3 separate regions of the Homo sapiens genome follow, and regions 1 and 3 are each linked to region 2. Evidence: promoter capture Hi-C in 16 types of primary human blood cells and fetal thymus (Javierre and others, 2016). All regions are on one chromosome and are shown on one strand. Each heading gives the region's core, a stretch centred on a gene start or on the middle of the fragment in contact. The rest is flanking DNA. Distances are from core to core; before and after follow the strand shown.

Region 1 (3,244 bases), core at 210-2,709, 340 kb after region 2:
ATTACTCCCCTTCAACAGGGGAAAGATGTGAGGTGCAATGCATTTACTGATCCATAGCAATTCTGAAACCTCCTAGGTCAATGTTACCAAGTTTCCTTGCTCTGGAAAGAGGTAACATTTCTTGATTCAGCCCAGGTTCTGCTCCCTGGGAATAGTTCTCTAATCTATTTTTCTGATTCTGCTTTTTGGAAGATCCTTTTGTTCTCATCATCTCCCTTGCTCATTTCTACAGGGGCATTGTAAAACAGGTCATTTTTGGTGGCTTAGCTGCATTCACTGCCTGTTTCCTACTTGGGGTCTCAAGAGTGGTTTTACATTTCAAATAATCCTTGTCTGTCTTAGGCCAGGCTCTAAGTGCTTTTGTCAATAAACTAGAAACCTTTGTGGGTTTTGAAATACCCAAAGATTTTTAGATTTGACTCCAAAATTGGCTGGGTGTGGTAGTTCATGCCTGCAATCCATACTTTGTGAGGCTGAGGCAGTAAGATTGTTTGATGCCAGCAGTTCAACACCAGCCTGGACAACACAGCAAGACCCTGTCTCAAAAGAAAGAAAGAAAGAAAGAAAGAAAGAAAGAAAGAAAGAAAGAAAGAAAGAAAGAAAGAAAGAAAGAAAGAAAGAAACTAAAAAACAAAAAAAGATTTGATTCCATTCCATTCCATGTGCCAAAAGTCATAGCCATAATTCTTTTAAACTATGCTTCTCTCTTTAGACATAATTACTGCTAATTTAGGCATACCAGGCTGCTGTGGAAACATGCCCTTAAGCTTCCTAAGACTCGTTTTGTCTAGCAGCATGAACTGTTTACATGGGCAGCCTGTCTGAAGACAAAGTATTAATATAACATTTTTGACCTCTCGAGTTCTCTATTAAAGGTAAAGCCCTTATAAAGGAAATTTTCTGGAGCCTGTCAAGAAGCTGCTTTCTGTCATGCTGTCCCACTCTCTTGCCTAGGTATAGACACATAATCAACAATGATCATTTAGACAGAGCAGCTTGGGAGCCAGGCAGGGTCGTGGTGCTTGCCAGACCTCAGCACCATTAACTGTAATCCTTTGTCATAGGACACAGCCACCCGGCCAGCTCTGCCTTTTCCTTCACCCCTCTTACAAGCTGTCACTTGCTTTCAGAAATCTTGCCAGTTGGCCTGGGAATCAAACCCTGTGGGGTGACCCATGCAAGAAGATGCCTATCACCAAGTACATGCCTTAATTACTGCTGTCACCTGAAAATAGCCATACGAACCAAAGCAAGTGCGTGAATCTGAGACAGCAACAAAATCTGTATCAGACCATTTTGCGCCAGAAAGTCCTGAGTTCTCTGGGTCAGGGCTTTTTAACAGAATAGAAAGGAGCCCCAGCAATTGTCTCTCATCCTGTAAATCTGCCCAGTGTCTGTCACATAGTTGGCAAAGACACTGATTTTTCAGAGGCAGTCAATGCTGGCAGACAATCAGGATATCTGAAAGCCCTTTTCTTTTGGGAATAGCAAAACTTCCACAGCTCACTTCATGCTGATCTTCTCTGAACTCAGTCTTTTTGTGACATTTCTAAAAAAAAGAGCAGTTAAAAACTACGAAGTTAATTCTTGAGCTATAGATGAATTCCTTCTAAGTACCACAACTATGCTTTGGGTAGTTGCTACCTGGTGAATGTTAATAAGTATACGCTCAGGGCAATTTAGACTGTGGTTTCCAAACCAGGAAGAATAACATTTTAAAATGATAGATTACTAGACAGTGCTGGAAGATTCTGGTTTTGGATGGAGTCTAGAAACATGTTTTAAAATGTTCTTCAGGCATAATAGGTGCAGTTCATTGTTGTAAAAAATAGGATCCATATTTTGGTGATTTTACACAATCAAAATGTCTTTCTTGCTCATATAACAGTTCGGTAAATGTGTCCTGGGTTGGTGGGTAGCTTTCCTCTGTATCACGATTCAGAGACCCAGGATTCTTTCATTTTGTGCCCCAAAGAGAACACCAAGTAATTGCGGCAATGCCACAGCAGAAAGAACCTATCGTTCCTGGGGCTGGGGAAACAAAGAGAAGAGGATGACATTATTGAAACTTGTGAGGGCTCCCATAGAGCAGAGATGCAGACATCTGAGAAGGAGGCTGCCATTCAGCTGCTGCTGCTGTCCCCAAGCTTGGAGTGGGGCTCCACGGGGCTGTGACTGGCTGAGGAGTGGGTGTTGGTTGGCTGCTGCTGGGGTCTCCAAGAAGGCACAATGAAGCTAGTTCTGTGCGTGCTGGGAAAACTGCACACCGGATTCAACTGCTGCTACTGGAATGAACTGCCTCTGCTGGAGAAAGATGCGGGCCTAAGGTGAGGCTGGTGGGACCTGGAGGCAAACAGGAAACCCACAAAAAGCAAGTGGGAAGGAGCAAATCTCTCCTTCCTTCCCACGCTTCCAGTTTTCTTCTAGAATCCATGTTGGCAGAAGCCGAGAGGAAGTCAGTTGGCAAAGCAGAAGCCCAGCCCCAGCATTATACAGCAGAGAACAGTTGAGTGGGTGTGAAGGTGAGAAGCAGTAACTCAGTCACTGGCACCATGACGGTCCTTGGGTTAGGGGCAGTGGGTAGCCCTAATCACCCATGCTGGATTCCTTCCGTTTCCCTCTTTGGATTTACTCTCCACCCTTCCCACCTTCGCAGTGTCCCCAGCTGTTGTCTGTGTGATGCACAACAGGCTGCCTCGCACTCTAGCTTCTGGCTGTGAGCATGGCTAAGAGGTGGAGAGAAGGAGGGGAGTGAGGATGGGACACACACTGACCTGATTCCCAGCGATGGGTCTGCTGTGTTTTTCCTTGGAGCTCCTCCTTTCTTCCTCTTAAGACCACGGGGTGGCAACACGGTTTTGCTGCTTTTAGTCCCAGCACACGGCACCATTTTCTGTGGGTTCCCAACAGCCAGTTCCCATCTCTGTAATTTGTTTCTTTATTAGACTCTCCTCACATCCTCCTAATTTCAGAGTGCCACTGTTTTTCTGGGACCCTGACTGATAGGCAGTCTAAGCTTGAGATGAAAAGAAGTGGACACAATTACAGGGAACCAGAGAGGAGACAGCCAAAGGGGAGAAAGCCACCTAAGGGAGCAATGGCCTTCTGTAGAGGCACTGCCAATTGGGTGTCTCAGTGGGGAGGCAGATGGTTCATGCAGATGGTGGAAATAATTAACCCAACATCTTTCTCCCCTCTTCCAGTTCCTGACTTCCTCTGACCGCTCTCCACTGGCCAAACCCAA
Region 2 (3,017 bases), core at 482-2,981:
TTGTATTTTTAGTAGAGACGGGGTTTCACCATGTTGGTCAGGCTGGTCGTGAACGCTTCTCATGCAAAGCTCCTCACCCAGGTTTGCCTTAAGCAGGAGGTCCCAGTGTTTCAGCCCAGTAAGTACCTGTGATGTCAAAATGCTGTGATACTTACATATGGAAGCAGAAATCCCAGTCGATGTCATTGCTAACAGTTGGGATACGGATGGGGCTGGCTTGCATCTTCTTCCTACCAAGAATCAGGTAAGGTCAGCTTTGAGAGAAAAGGCTGGGTGTCTGTTCTATTTTCCCCCTCTGGTTTGCTATTAACATTAAACTAAAACTGCTCAAATATATAACCCATCCTAAATCCACAGACTACGCATACTTAGATATGGAGACCGCTGGAAAACAGACATTTGCCAAATTAAATGTCTAAGTTAAATTTCTTTCCCCTAATTTCAACTCCACCCTACTTCTCCAAAATCCCTGGCCTTTATGTCTCAAAGCAAGCACATTTACAGTTCCTGGGTCATCAAAACTATGGTCACCTACTTAACTCAGATATTGTTTTTGCAGGTCTGACGGCGTGTTGGATTTAAGCAAAGCAACCAACTCTCAGTGGTAAACGAAGCACAGCCAGTGTATTGGTTAATTCTGCTTTCCCCCCCCCCCCCGGGGTCATTTCACTAATTAATAGCAGATTCTAGTACAGGGGTCACGAGGCGGGTACAGAGGCTCACGCCTGTAATCCCAGCACTGTGGGAAGCCGAGGCGGGTGGATCACCCGAGTTCAGGAGTTCGAGACCAGCCTGGCCAACAGGGTGAAACCCCGTCTCTACTAAAAATACAAAATATAGTCGGCTGTGGTGGTGCACGCCTGTAGTTCCAGCTACTCGGGAGGCTGAGGCAGGAGAATCGCTTGAACCCGGGAGGCGGAGATCGCGCCACTGCACTCCAGCCTGGGCGACAGAGCGAGACTCCGTCTCAAAATAAAATAAAACAATAAAATGAAATTCATGTGTCTGTTTTAGTTGTTGCTGTTAGATGATAGGAGAAACCTCGGAAGCACAAAACGAAAAATGTGATTTCTAAATACAGTATTTGTGAAATTCAACTCTCAAGGAAGGCTATGCCAGTCGCTTAAATCAAACCCAAATCGAACGCAGTTACTTATTGAATGTTAACATCCACCAAGTCGCCTCTCCTTTCACCCTCCAGAATCACTAATTCCCACCGAGCCCTGAGTGGCTTTCTGACCCAGGCTCCAGAGCATCCATTATCCGAAAATCAGAAAGGGAGAGTCACTAATTTCTCTTTTTAACCTCCACTTTAAACACTATGCCCACAGCAAAGAGTTCTGATCTCTCAAACTCCCGGACTCTGTTCCTATGACGTTCCGCACGGCCCTGAGCCCCTCAAGGACGAATCGCTCCTCTTTTCCCGCTGTGGTTCTGCGGCAAGTCTGTAAGCCCTGACGCCGCAGGTCGAGCTCTGAGAGCCTCTCTGCCGCGGAGGCTCTAAGAGAACGCGCGAGTGCGCAAAGGGCACCTGGCTCAAGGCGGAGAAACCACGCCCCGGAACCAGCCTCCCAGCTCCCTGAGCCCGACGGCGCGGCTTCCTCCCGCTGCGTCGGCCTCCTGACCCTGGCGCACCTCGGTCCGGGCGCCAAAGCGGTGCCTCGCGAAAGCTGCACAGCCTGCGACGTCCCCAGTTACCTTCCGCAGCCCAGGTCCGGCCAAGGAGACAATACCGTTGCCATGGGAACGGAACGCTACGGGTTCTGCTGGGAGCGCCTGTAGCCATGGCGACGCGGGGCACTTCCGGTTCGGAGAGTCCCTGTTGTCTGGCGCCTACAGCAGCCCTTGCCTTACCCTCCGCTTTCCCTTCCCCGCAGGTTAGACGCGCCCGGCCTCCGGCTCGCCCCAAAACTGGCCTCTGCATATTGTATCTCACGAGACCTTACCCCTCGGAGGTGAAGGCGTAGGAAGAGAAGATACATTCCGTCCAAGGATGGAAGGGAGCGCCGGGCCCCACGGCCCTACTTATTTAAAGCTGCGACGTGTGCGGGCTGTATTCGGCGACGATCCTGGCCACGGTGCACCCCCACAGCTCCTCGGGAGTTTTGTTTTTATGGACCCCAGAGGAAAGGCTTAGATATGGCTGTTGACTGTGCTGGCACCGTCTGTGTTACCCAGTAAGATTGGAGCTAGGCATGGTTAGGAAAGCTGATTGCAGGAAGAGAGTAGGGTAAGAAATCGACTACTAGATCTGCTAATGGTTAGCTGTTCATTATTTATTTAGCACTTAGCCCTAAATAATGCAGCCATATCTTACCCTTTCGTTGGCATGGAATACAGTGTGTGTAATACACACAAGGTGCAGAGGCAATTGTGGCCATACCCAAAGAAACAGCGCCAGCTCTTGCAACGCTATGTTGAAGGATGTTATTATGAACCCTATCATAGACTAGGCCTATGGCAAGTCAAGTTGGAGTGAATGTGTCCCAGTTGTTTTCAGAAAAGAGCAGACTAGGTAGAGAGACAAGGAGAACATTGAGAATGTGAAAGATGGTGTTTACGTTTGGTGTTTGTTATTTCCAGCTCTAGGCTGGAAGTTTAATTGCCATTGATCCAAGACTGCCAAGAAAGCCTTTTTGGAGTTAGGTTGGAGGAGTTATTTAAATGAGTTTGCTTGAATATCTCTTAAGTAAAACCTGTATGGTCTGTTAACTCAAGATTTAAATCTGTACTTTCGAGCTCCATAGTCACAATTTTGGAAAGATTCCCCCACTTTATTCTTTTTCCTAAGAAAACTCTCAGCATGGAACAATGATGACAGCAATGAACCTGATTTCAGAATGTCAAGGTTCTGGTTTTGACTCTGTAGCCTGGGCCGAGTCACGGCCAGTGGGTCCCAATTTTCTTGCCTATACGGTGAAAGTTTTTGTACCACTTGCTTTCTGAAGCGCCTTCTGGTTCCAGGTTTCTGTAAGGGGTAAACGATTTTTGTGACTCTATGAACAGTATTTAACATG
Region 3 (3,186 bases), core at 114-2,613, 260 kb after region 2:
GTATGCCATCATTAGAGGTGATCGACATCTTGGTCCAATTCAGTTTATTGCATTAACCAGCAGGCAAGGTTGGAGTGACCCTCCCTCCCTTTACCCTTTCTCCTTCTCCTTCCTCCCCCTCTCCTTTCTCCTCTTGCAGCATCTGTTCACAGGCACACTTTGGTAAGGTTGGGGAAGTGGTGCTGCAGAGGTGTGGATCTGCTTCAGGGAGCCTTCTGGAAGTTCAGGCCCAGAGTGGAGAGCAGTGAGGGAAGTGCTGGAGTGGCCTGGGGCTGCAGGAAGACACTGGGCTTCTTGGCTGAGCACAAACTTTCACAACAGCTCCTATGGTAGCCTGAGTGATGGCCACCGAAGACATGCATGCTTGAATCCCTGGAACTTGTGAATGTTACCTTATGTGGCAAGGGGGACTCTGCAGATACAACTAAGTTAAGGACCTTGGGATGGAGAGATTTTCCTGGTGGGCCTCAAATGTGGTTGTCAGTGTCTTTATAAGAGGGAGGCAGATGGAGCTTTAACACAGATGAGGAGACAAAATGACCACAGAGGCAGAGATGGGAGTAATGAGGTCATGAGCCGAGGATTCTTGGCACCCATGAGAAGCTGGAAGGGGCAAGAAACAGGTTCTCTCCTGGGGCCTCCAGATCCCTTGATTTTAGGCCTATAAGGATGAGTTCAGACTTCTGGTATCCAGAATTGTAAGAGAGTAAGCTTGTGTTGTTTTAAGCCACCAAGTTTATGGTACTTTGTTATAGCAGTGGTAGCAAATGAATACAGTTCATGGGCACACTCTAATTCTGGGTTCTCTAAGGAGGCTCCTGAGACCTAAGGGTCTGAAAGATGTAGCTTCATGAATGCTTGGACCCAACAGGACACCCCAGGCTGAACAAGGCCTTTGCTCTAGGTCAGATTTGCTCTCCCAGGGGAGATCCAATCAGTTTAAAATGGAACCTGCGTGCGGTGGCTCACGCCTGTAATCCCAATACTTTGGGAGGACGAGGTGGGCAGATCACCTGAGGTCAGGAGTTCAAGACCAGCCTGGCCAACATGGGGAAACCCCATCTCTACTGAAAACACAAAAAATTAGCTGGGTGTGGTGGCAGGTGCCTGTAATCCCAGCTACTTGCGAGGCTGAGGCAGAAGAATCGCCTGAATCCGGGAGACGGAGTTGTGGTGAGCTGAGATTGCGCCATTGCACTCCAGCCTGGGTGACTGAGCCAGACTCCATCTCAAAAAAAAATAAAATAAAATCTAATGTATATGATTCATTTTGAAGCATCGGCTCACACAATTGTGGAGGCTGAGAAGTCCCACGGTCTGTCATCTTAAAGCTGGAGACCCGGGAAAGCTGGTGGTCAAGTTCTGAGAGCCAGAGGGCTGATGGTACATGTCCCAGTCAAGGGCAGGAGAAGATTAACATTCCCATTCAAGCAGTCAAGCAGAGAGAGCAAATACCCTCTTCCAGCACCTTCGCTTTCTACTTAGACCTTCAATAGACTGGAGGATGTCTTCCCATACTGGGGAGGGCGGTCTGCTTTACTCAGTCCACTGATTCAATGCTAATCTCATCCAGAGACACCCTCACAGACACACCCAGAAATAATATTTAATCTGGACACCGCATGTTTCAGTCGAGTTGAGGTTTAAAATAAGCCTTCACGCACCCTTACAACTTAGGTGCCATTTCCCCCCACTGAGCTCCCTTCTTATCCTCTGAGAACACAAGGAGGTATTACTCACAACACAGCCCAGCTGGCCAGCACCAGCTACATAATCTGTGGGGTCCAGTACAAAATGAAAATGCAGAACTGATTCTTCCACACTTGAGAAGCATCTCATCTCAAGATGGCGGGAGCAGGGCATTCACCAGGCATGGCGCCTTCTGCAGGCCCAGCCCAGAGCTACCACAGGTCATGCTCCCATGAGGAGGACTCCTGCCTCTGGCCTCTGTTCTATTTCTAGGTTGGACTTCCACCTCCTACATCATTTTTCTTCCAGAAGCACATGAAGCTTTTTTAGGAAGCCATTTCTTTTTGGCTCCATTTCTTCTTCGTGGAAAAGGCTTCCACTCTCAAAGTTTGCCAAGCCAAAAATAGAATCTGCTTGAAGAGTGAAATGAGACTCAGGATCCTGCTGATAACTCCAATGTTTTAAAAACAAACAAGGACAACTATAAAGATAGTTTATGGGCTCATTAAAAATCTCCAAACCACAGTATCAACCACAGGATGGAGGGTGTCATTTTAGGAAAACTCTGTAATGCACCACGGTGAACCCGCCCCGCTGAAGCTCCATGGTGGCACAGGGGCCTCTGGCAGGGCGATGCGCTTCTCACAGTGAGCAGGGAGTGGGAGGCCCCCACAAGCTCTTATGGGAGAAGGGAATCAGGGGTGCCTATGCAACCATAGGACATATAAGTGTAAGTGGCTTTTTTTTTTTTGAGACGGAGTTTTGCTTCTGTTGCCCAGGCTGGAGTGCATCGGTGTGATCTTGGTTCACTGCAACCTCTGTCTCCCAGGTTCAAGCGATTCTCCTGCCTCAGCCTCCTGAATAGTTGGGACCACAGATGTATGCTGCCACACCTGGCTGATTTTTTAAAAAAATTATTCGTAGCAATGAGCATCTCCCTATGTTGCCCAGGCTGGTCTTGAACTCCTGGGCTGAAGTAATCCTCCCACCTCCACCTCCCAAAGTGCTGAGATTACAGGCATGAGAGCCCAGCCTTATGCTTTTAGTTCATACTTTAGGAAGAGTTATCAGAAATGAAATGCAACGCAGTGCCTAGGGCTGGGAAGGAGGTGGGGGTAACTAGAAGGACAAAAAAGAGTGGAAGATGAGGATGACAGAAGAAGGGTGTGCTATTGATCAGCAGGAGGGCCAGGAATTGGGCCCCTTGCTCCAGGGTTTTTAACTTTATTCATGCCATGGGAACCCCCAGCAGCCTGGTGAAGCCAGTGGAACCTTTCTCAGAGGAATATTTTAAAATGCATAAAATAAAATTCATAGAATTCCACAGCAGACTGTAGTAATATTAAAATACAGTTATCAAAATGCTTAAAGTACACATTTGTGATATAATAATGTATGTGCTTTTTTTCCTAATGCATTAAATAAGACCTAGTGGCAGTTCTATTGATTATTTTAATTTAGAAGTAGTGCTATTAGTAAATGCTATTTCAAGGTATC

What was found. The method cuts DNA at HindIII sites, captures the fragments that hold promoters and counts their contacts. A CHiCAGO score of 5 or more calls a contact.
Region 1: a contact is called between a fragment that was not itself captured here and the fragment with the promoter of TTC23L in region 2, in 2 of 17 cell types (total B cells and endothelial precursors). The highest score is 7.4, in total B cells.
Region 3: a contact is called between a fragment that was not itself captured here and the fragment with the promoter of TTC23L in region 2, in 1 of 17 cell types (total B cells). The highest score is 5.3, in total B cells.

The regions. Positions count from the first base shown.
Region 1 is chr5:34,501,997-34,505,240 of GRCh38, reverse strand. No RefSeq gene overlaps it. Among named protein-coding and RNA genes, the nearest start is that of RAI14-DT, 150 kb to the left of the region's middle. RefSeq lists an enhancer at 2,037-3,236. The HindIII fragment of the contact is 1,380 bases long and covers 770-2,149 here.
Region 2 is chr5:34,837,878-34,840,894 of GRCh38, reverse strand. TTC23L (tetratricopeptide repeat domain 23 like) reads right to left here and starts at 1,731. Exons shown (of 11, transcript NM_144725.4): 1 at 1,636-1,731; 2 at 156-230. The coding sequence starts at 223. TTC23L-AS1 (TTC23L antisense RNA 1) reads left to right here and starts at 1,563. Exons shown (of 2, transcript NR_183259.1): 1 at 1,563-1,712; 2 at 1,878-3,017. RefSeq lists an enhancer at 1,332-1,441. The HindIII fragment of the contact is 6,317 bases long and covers 1-3,017 here.
Region 3 is chr5:34,576,069-34,579,254 of GRCh38, reverse strand. No RefSeq gene overlaps it. Among named protein-coding and RNA genes, the nearest start is that of RAI14-DT, 79 kb to the left of the region's middle. The HindIII fragment of the contact is 1,299 bases long and covers 714-2,012 here.